Linked DNA regions of Homo sapiens: region 1 is linked to region 2. Evidence: promoter capture Hi-C in human tissues and cell types (Jung and others, 2019). All regions are on one chromosome and are shown on one strand. Each heading gives the region's core, a stretch centred on a gene start or on the middle of the fragment in contact. The rest is flanking DNA. Distances are from core to core; before and after follow the strand shown. Region 1 overlaps LOC124903135 (a long non-coding RNA gene). Region 2 holds the start of TNFRSF19 (TNF receptor superfamily member 19).

Region 1 (4,841 bases), core at 880-3,379, 39 kb before region 2:
GATACTACAAGGAAAAGATCTCACTGTCTGGACTACTCATGATGTAAATGGCACACTAGGTGCCAAAGGAAGTTTATGGCTATCAGACAACCACCTACTTAGATACCAGGCACTACTTCTTGAGAGACTGGTGCTTCAAATATGCATGTGCGTGGCCCTCAACCCTGCCACTTTTCTCCCAGAGGATGGGGAACCAATTGAGCATGGCTGCCAACAAATTATAGTCCAGACTTATGCCACCCGAGATGGTCTCTTAGAAGTCCCCTTAGCTAATCCTGACCTTAACCTATATACCAATGGAAGTTCATTTGTGAAGAATGGGATACGAAGGGCAGGTTACACCATAGTTAGTGATGTAACTGTACTTGAAAGTAAGCCTCTTCCCCCAGGGACAAGTGCCCAGTTAGCAGAACTAGTGGCACTTACCCGAGCCTTAGTACTGGGAAAGGGAAAAAGAATAAATGTGTATACAGATAGCAAGTATGCTTATGTAATCCTACATGCCCATGCTGCAATATGGAAAGAAAGGGAGTTCCCAACCTCGGGGAACCCCCATTAAATGCCACAAGGAAATCATGGAGTTACTGTACATAGTGCAAAAACCGAAGAAGGTGGCAGTCTTACACTGCCAAAGCCATCAAAAGGGGAAGGAGAAGGGAGAACAGCAGCATAAGCATATGGCAGAGGCAGAAGAAATGAAAGACAGAAAGAGACAAGAAGTCAGAGAGGAAGAGATAGAGAGACAAAGAGAGAAAGAGAAAGACAGGAAGTCAAAGAGAAGGAGACAGAGAGAGGAAGAGACAGACAGAGGCAGTCAGAAAGAGAGAGACGAAGAAGTCAAAGACAGAGATAGAAGTAGTAAAGAAAAAACAGTGTATCCTATTCCTTTAAAAGCCAGGGTAAAGTTCTGTCTACCCAGCCAAGGTATATTCTTCCTATGTGGAATGTGGACCTACATCTGCCTCCCCACTAACTGGATAGGCACCTGCACCTTAGTCTTTCTAAGTCCCAACATTAACATTGCCCCAGGAAATCAGAGCCTATCAGTACCCCTCAAAACTCAAGTCTGTCAGTGCAGAGCCATACAACTGATACCACTACTTACAGGGTTAGGAATAGTTACTGCTACAGGAACCGGAATAGCCAGTTTATCTACTTCATTATCCTACTACCAGACACTCTCAAAGGATTTTTCAGACAGTTTGCAAGAAATAACGAAATCTATCCTTACTCTACAATCCCAAATAGACTCTTTGACAGCAGTGACTCTCCAAAACCACCGAGGCCTAGACCTCCTCACTGCTGAGAAAGGAGGACTCTGCACCTTCTTAGGGGAAGACTGTTGTTTTTACACTAACCAGTCATGGATAGTGTGAGATGCCACCCGGTGTTTACAGGAAAAGGCTTCTGAAATCAGGCAACGTCTTTCAAACTCTTATACCAACCTCTGGAGTTGGGCCACATGGCTTCTCCCTCCCCTTTCTAGGTCCTGTGGCAGCCATCTTGCTGTTACTTGCCTTTGGGCCCTGTATTTTTAACCTTCTTGTCAAATTTGTTTCCTCTAGAATCGAGGCCATCAAGCTACAGATGGTCTTACAAATGGAACCCCAAATGAGTTCAACTAACAACTTCTACCGAGGACACCTGGACTGACCTGCTGGCCCTTCCACTGGCCTAAAGAGTTCCCCTCTGGAGGACACTACAACTGCAGGGCCCCTTCATCACCCCTATCCAGCAGGAAGTAGCTAGAGCAGTCATCGGCCAAATTCCCAACAGCAGTTGGAGTGTCCAGTTTAGAGGGGGGATTGAGAGGTGACAATGTGCTAGCAGCCCTCGCTCACTCTCAGTGCCTCCTCAGCCTCGGCGTCCACTCTGGCCATGCTCAAGGAGCCCTTCAGCCCACCACTGCACTGTGGGGGCCCCTCTTTGGGCTGGCTGAGGCCAGAGCCGGCTCCCTCTGTTTGTGGGGAGGTGTGGAGGGAGAGGCATGGGCAGGAACTGGGGCCAGCACGAGTTCCGGGTGGGCGTGGGCTCAGCTGTGGAGGGTGCACCGGGTCCCCCAGCACTGTTGGCCCACCTGTGCCATGCTCAAATTCTTGCCGGGCCTCAGCCGCCTCCCTGCGGGGCAGGGCTTGGGACCTGCAGCCCGCCATGCCCTAACCCCCCCTGCTCCACGGAGCCTGGTCCCATCGACTACACAATGGCAAAGGAGTGTGGGCACGCAGCATGGGATGGTCGGGCAACTCCTCACGTGGCCCTGGAGCGGGATCCACTAGGCGAAGCCAGCTGGGCTCCTGAGTCAGGTGGGGACTTGGAGAACTTTTATGTCTAACTAAAGGTTTGTAAATGTGCCAATCAGCACTTTGTGGCTAGCTCAAGGTTTGTAAATGCACCAGTCAGCACACTGTGGCTAGCTCAAGGTTTGTAAATGCACCAATCAGTGCTCTGTGTCTAGCTAATCTAGTAGGGACTTGGAGAACTTTTATGTCTAGCTAGAGGATTGTAAATACACCAATCAGCACTCTGTATCTAGCTCAAGGTTTGTAAACGCACCAATCAGCACCCTGTGTCTAGCTCAAGGTTTGTAGACGCACCAATCAGCACTCTGTGTCTAGCTTAAGGTTTGTAAATACACCAATCAGTGCTCTGTGCCTTGCTAATCTAGTGGGGACTTGGAGAACTTTTACGTCTAGCTAGAGGATTGTAAATACACCAATCAGCACTCTGTGTCTAGCTCAGGGATAGTAAATTCACCAATCAGCATGCTGCCAAAGCAGACCAATCAGCTCTCTGTAAAATGGGCCAATCAGCAGGAAGTGGGTGGGGTCAGATAAGGGAATGAAAGCAGGCTGCTGGAGCCAGCAGTGGCAACCCATTGGGGTCCCCTTCCACGCTGTGGAAGCTTTGTTCTTTTGCTCTTTGCAATAAATCTTGATGCTGCTCACTCTTTGGTTCCACATTGCCTTTATGAGCTGTAACACTCACTGCAAAGGTCTGCAGCTTCACTCCTGAGGCCAGCGAGACCATGAACCCACCGGGAGGAATGAACAACTCCAGACGCGCCACCTCAAGAGCTGTAACACTCACCACGAAGGTCTGCAGCTTCACTCCTGAAGCCAGCGAGACCACGAACCCACCAGAAGGAAGAAACTCCGAACAAGTCCGAACATCAGAAGGAACAAACTCTGGACCCACCACCTTTAAGAACTGTAATACTCACCACGAGGGTCCGCGGCTTCATTCTTGAAGTCAGTGAGACCAAGAACCCACCAATTCCGGACACAATAGGAAGCAAGATCCCTCTTGGTGGTTGTATATTGCCTGGTCTACACGTGCTGCGTGGAACTGGGCTGTCCACCTGTGACTGTGCTGAGCCAAGCCAACATATTAAGCTGCACAAGAAAGACAGCATTTGAATGTTTGAATTCACCATGAAACTGCCCTATTTCTATATTTTGTGCAAGGTTCACGTTTTCCCCATTGTTTAAGCCATTTTTGGTTGGATATTTTATTATTTGTACCCAAAATTGTCTTAGCTAACAGACACTCAACTGTCTATATGCTCTTTAGCTCCAATAGTGCTCTAATTGTTTCATCTCTACCAAGTTGAAAATTTATTTGAGCAGAGAAAATAATCACCATATTTTTCTGGTTATAATTCGTTTTTCATAATTTAATGCTTCTAAAATGATCTATCTTTCAATGTATGTATTTAATATGAAAATATTTCTTTTTCCTGAAAATATATTATTGAATTTATAGCACAGATTACAACAATTATGTCTTAAACTCTGAGAAATGGGATAGTAGATTTCAGCTTTACCCCCAAGAAAAAGGAGAGTATAGAAAATGCCTAAGGAACTTGGTAGAGGGCAGGGTGCAGTGGCTTCTGCCTGTAATCCCAGCAATTTGGGAGGCCAAGGAGGGCGGATCATGAGGTCAAGAGATTGAGATCAGCCTGGCCAAGACGGTGAAACCCCATCTCTACTAAAAATACAAAAATTAGCTGGGCGTGGTGGTGCGTGCCTGTAATCCCAGCCCTACTCGGTAGGCTGAGGCAGGAGAATCGCTTCAGCCTGGGAGGCGGAGGTTGGCAGTGAGCCGAGATTGTGAGACTCAGTCGAAAAAGAAAGAAAGAAAGAAGGGAGGGAGGGAGGGAAGAATCACAGACCAAATTAATTAACATTGATGTAAAAACTCTAAAGATTAGCAAATCCAACATTGCAACGTTTTATTTCTCCATAATGTTAAAGAGCCTTTTTTCTTTACACCAGCTTTACCATTTTATTACATGTATCTTATATTGCCACGAAGTTTGTTTACATACAATAAAGTGCATGCATTCTAAGTATACAATTCAGTGGGTTTTGGCAAATGTAACCAACCATGGTTACATTCAGTCTCAATATAGAACATTTCCATCACCCTCCAAAAATTCCCTGTGCTATCTCTATATTTATGTTATGCAAGGCTCACATTTGCCTCATTATTGAAATCATTGTTGGTTGGGTTTTGTATTATTTGTACCCCAAATTGTCTTAACTAACATATACTCACCTGTTAATCCCACATGGTCAGCCCCTGGCAACCACAGGTCTGCTTTCTGTTACTACAGATCAGTTTTGCCTGTTCTAGACGTATATGTAAATGGACTCATACAACATGAACTCTGAATGCTCCCTGCATTCAGCACAGTGCATTCCAGTCCTTTATGTTGTCATGTGTATTGATTTTTTTTTTCCGTTTCGTTGCTGCATAGGATTTCATTGTATCAATATGCCACTATTGATGTATCCATCCTCCGGCTGAGAGGCATTGGGTTTGTTTCCGGTTGGGTTCTA
Region 2 (4,891 bases), core at 1,538-4,037:
ATCTATATCTTAAAATGGTGAGAATTCATGGCATCCACCTGTCAAGATAAAGGAGCAAAGGAACCACGCTCCAAGTTTTGGGAAGAAAATAGCACATGGTGGCGACTGGGGGTGACATGAGACCCCACTCCCCATCAGGAATCTCAGGCAGCCCCTCCCTTCTTGGATATGAACAACTGAAGTTTTCTCAATCATTTATTTTATTTTTTAACTGATTAATAATAATTATACATATCCCTGGGCACCTAGTGACATTTCTATACCTATAAGGTATAGTGATCAGATCAGGGTAACTGGCATGCCCGTCATCTCAAACACTGACCACTTCTTTTAAAGTGTAGCCTGGAGCTCCCCACTGTGGATCCAATGGCTGCCACAACCACTTTGCAGAACCAGGTCGCTGAAAGGCAGCTTGACAAAAAGACTAAGATGAGCCAAGTGTACTGCAACATGGCACAGGAACCATTGATCAAATGCTGTAACTTGGTGTCATGACAACGGACAATGATGTCGAGTGGAGTGCTGGATCTCTTATCACCACTGTATCACACTGATTTAATCACACTAATCTAAGCTTCTTGAAGGGGAAAGAGAAAAGCTTTGTAGTAGCTCCCCTTCCTGGTGCTGTTCAGAAACAACAATGGTGCAGGCCACACCTCACAACGAAGGGGGCTCGGCTGGCTGGGCACAGTGCTAAATGAGCCGCAGGTCAAGAGGTCACTCCTGCAGCCAGGCCGACCTTTAGCCACACTCTGGTCCAGGCGACAGATGGGGCCCTAGCCTCAGTCCCCTTTCATCTCACATATGGGGAGTTCTTGGCCACAAGAGGACCAATTCAAAATAATATCCAGTGACTTGGTGAATAAACTCTTCCACTGGAGATGGTATTGCATTGTTGGATGTATCTTGAACTACAAAGCTTGCTTGGGGAGATTTGTATAAATTGAAGATCATTTGATTGGTTTTCATTCAAGTCCCTGCTTTCAAGTGCCTCCTGTATGTTTTTCAGTGGAACACAAGAACCCGAATTCAGTCCTTCACCTATTTCTACTGGTGTTGAAATCTATAAAGACATAAAATCTACTTGCTTAGCCAATGAGCCTTACAGAGTGTCTAGTTGCTCTGATTTAATATATCAGTGTATCGGGAAACTTTAATCCTGAGTGCAGGCTGTTGGCATATGGATTCCATGCTGGTGGTAGGTTTGGACTACCTCAGAAAAGAAATGGGCACATGCCTTCTTGTAAATATTTTGTCTTTGTAAATATTTTCTTTGTATTCATGGGTTCAAGATGCCCAGGAAACGTATGTGAAGCCCAGATGTCACAGGAATTTTCCTGGTCTGCTTTAAGGAAGTCCTTAAGCATCACACCTGCCAGTTCAAATACTATTTGAGCCCTGTGCATTTTTGAGAAATGATGTATAAGTAGAAAAATTATACAAGAAACATGGAAAAATCAACAGGACTATTTAAATGTTATACAGAACTTATGAACAGTTCAAACTAAATATTTTGCTATTAAAATTATTCAAGAATCATAGAAATCTGGAAATAAACACTTCATAAATAACGTTTTCAAATATCGCGTCAGGAAAAATTAGACAAAACCAGTTAAGGAGGGAAGTTACATTGAAAAAGACTGAGTTCTACTATCCCCTAAGTTTTGCAAAAATATTTTTAACTTACTTTCTAAAAGTTAGTGAGTTTCCATTATAAAATAGAAAAATTGTCTTCATTCCATGAAAGAACTGTCTGAAAATCAGAAAAGCACCATATCCTGGATTTCAAGGAAGATGAAACTTCTTCTTATCTTCTATTTTACTAAATACTCAAAATAAAATAATCATATTGTATTGAATCTGACATTGTTAAGGAAAATAGCTTAAAATTTTTAAATAATGAGCAATATATTTAATTTTAAAATACGAAGAATTAGGCTAAGGTGGTAATTTTTTAGTGAGTTGAAAGTCCAAACTATGAGTTCGGAAGAAACAGCCCTAAAAGGCAAATAACATGGCTTTGGAATAATCACAGGGCAAATGCTTTGTTCTACATAATTCTTCTTTTGTGAATTTTAAAATGCTCAACAAGTATTAATGAAATATGTCTAAGAAGTAGATATTGCTTTAAAATCTAATTTCCAGAGTCCCGAACTAAGGCAAAGATTGAGATTAAGTCTCCGCCCAAAGTCTTAAGTGAGCCAGTGGAAGATGGCAGTTTATTCATGAATTGTTGGTTATCTGCTGCTTAACTACTTAACACAACCCGGTTTGATTGGTAATCAGATCCTAATAATGTATGTTTCAAAGAAAGGGCAGTTTCCTTAAAATCCTTAAAGACTTGTCACTTTGAAAACTGGAATCAAAATGTGAAAATGTTATCGGTCCATCTGGCAGTGTCCTTGGGTGTTTTTTAGAGTGGTCTCATAGTGCTATTTAACTATGCTGAATATTTGACACCCAGTCTCTGTAGGAAATTGTGATTTTTATCAGCGAAGAGGCAATTAAATGCTGTCATTTGGCACGTCCATCCATCAGGGATCTTATCACCCAAGAAGCATCCAGCAGCAGTTGCTGTCCTTTCCAGCTGGCAGACAGATAACAGAAACTGTCCTGTGTGAGGCACAATAGTCTAACATGATTAGAAATCAGCCAAACTCTGGCTTCTCTTGAGCTATACTCCCCCACAGGCTGAATTATAGCTCTCCTACCAGTCCCACGGCGCTGAATGATGTCATGGGATCTGCAGTTCAGCGAGATGAAAGGGATAAAGCAGAACCCGCTGGCACTAGGAAAAGCTTCCAACACACAGTCCACAACACAGCTTGGGAACCAAAAAAGCTACAGATCCAGCCACTCAGCCCAAGCATGGGAGAACTACCAGCATTGCCTCATTGCAAAAAAGAGGAGGAAAACAACGTGATCCATGTTTAACAAAAGAGTCTGTGGACTAGGAGGTGGGAGGGTAACTACCTGCTGAAAGTGAACTTTCTTTGATATCCATGCATATATATAAACTCAGCCCTGCCTTTGATGTTCAGCAACTGATTCACTGATCAGATTACAGGCATTTCATCTCCCTGCTCGTCTGCCTTTGATCTGCATGGTTAATTTTATTTTCCTGGATTTGAAGTTTCGTCTGGGCTTGTGCTGACATACATTTTTGGGAAGGTAGAAGCATTTGGCACAGAAGTGCTGCCAGGAGAAACTAAGTTGCTGAACGGGTAAGTACTGCAAAGAGCTCAGCATGTTGCAGGTACTCTGTTTTAAGCTTTGTTATAGCTTTCACTGCATTTTTCGCATGTGTTCTGAGAAAAGAATGGTTTTAATTAATTTTTTAGAAAGCATTTATACAGCTGAATACTACATGATGCTGAATGTGTGTATCAGAGTAACTATGGAACTTGATGTAATTTTTAGTAGTTTGTACAAGAGGGTTTGCAGTCTGTCATACAAATTTTACTTGGAAATGAGTTGTACAAACAGGACAAAACAGAACAGCGCTCACTTTAGCATGCAACTGGTACTTCAACCCCTGAGATCTGTGAGCTATAATTGCTCTAAGTATTTACAGGTTACCTTATTTAGTAAACAGTCAGTGCAACTTTGCTTGTTGAAAATGCTTTCTTTGTTTTCTTATATAAAAGAGTAAAATGTATCTCTGGCAATACTGTTTCTTTAGTTTATTTATTCTCTCACTTCCAAGATGTAAATCTATCAAATACACTTCCTTATGCAGTTTGTACACTCAAGGGAATCACTGAAAAACCATCAAGTATGATTAAAGACTTTTATGTGTAAAACTGAAGAATTTAAAAACAGTGAGGATAAAGTTGCACTAAGTTTGGCTAAAAATACTCCAGTGATTTTCTATAACCTTTGGAAATAGCATAAGCCTTATTTACAGAAACATTCACAAGGTTAATATTCCTAAATTAACATTTACTTTACATTTATAGTGACAGCTGTTTTAAGTCAAAATTTGCCAACTGTTTATGAAAACTATCTGAGTAATCAACAGTTATTATGTTACATAAAGTATCTTAGTCACATTTTCACTTTAGCTAATGCCCAACATGACAAAACCAAATTATATTGCTGTACCGAATTTGAAAGTTAACTGTTATTTTTTTGTCAGTTCATGATACACACACACTCACGCTCACACACACACACAGTAAAATCTTTACAGTGAAATATAAAAACTAAATACAATGGAAAAGTAACACTGTTACTTTGTTCGCGATGTTTTTTTTTTTAATGTTCTAGTCCTAAATTTATCTGGGCAAAATATTTAATTATTATCACAAGTCTATTTGATGCTAGCTGAACCATAAAGAAACCATAAGTGATAAGACCAGTTATCCTTTAGTCTGAAATTCTGATGAAACAGGAAAGGTCTAATGAGTCTCATTTCATAAGTAATTAATTTTTCACAGCCAATTAATTAAATTACTTTCTACACTTTCCTCTTGATACTAGAAGGGTAATTAGCATTGTTTATTTAATTTTAAAACTTTGCTAGTTGTTAAGTGGAGGTTATTTAAAGCCATGCTAAACTGATTATATTTTTAAAGTGTGTCATTAATAACTTAATCTTAAAGATTTAACTGCTGTTTTTAGTCATGCCAGGAGAGGCATTTGCTTTTTTTTTCTAAGAGTACAACAAATCATGTTCACAATATCCTGCAATATCGGTTTAGTTTGATTTTTTTTTAATTTGTTTGCTTAAAATCTTCCTTTTAATCACAAAAGTGGTATTAATGTTCACATTCAGATAAAGAAAATTAGCCTTTTAAAACAATGACTGGAGATGGTGCCTAAAGAAATAGTGTGTCTGAAACTTGCTCATTTAGTTCAGATTTGGATTTTAAAATTTTTAAAATGACTG

The links. The method cuts DNA at HindIII sites, captures the fragments that hold promoters and counts their contacts. A contact is called where the count stands out against the background at its distance.
Region 1: a fragment that was not itself captured here is called in contact with the fragment with the promoter of TNFRSF19 in region 2 in 1 of the 25 tissues and cell types used here (mesenchymal stem cells).

Annotation. Positions count from the first base shown.
Region 1 is chr13:23,529,574-23,534,414 of GRCh38, forward strand. It overlaps LOC124903135 (a long non-coding RNA gene), which reads left to right. Exons shown (of 3, transcript XR_007063720.1): 3 at 1,566-2,944. Among named protein-coding and RNA genes, the nearest start is that of TNFRSF19, 38 kb to the right of the region's middle. The HindIII fragment of the contact is 7,595 bases long and covers 1-4,841 here.
Region 2 is chr13:23,567,625-23,572,515 of GRCh38, forward strand. TNFRSF19 (TNF receptor superfamily member 19) reads left to right here and starts at 2,788. Exons shown (of 10, transcript NM_148957.4): 1 at 2,788-3,224. RefSeq lists enhancers at 199-711, 712-1,223. The HindIII fragment of the contact is 2,276 bases long and covers 759-3,034 here.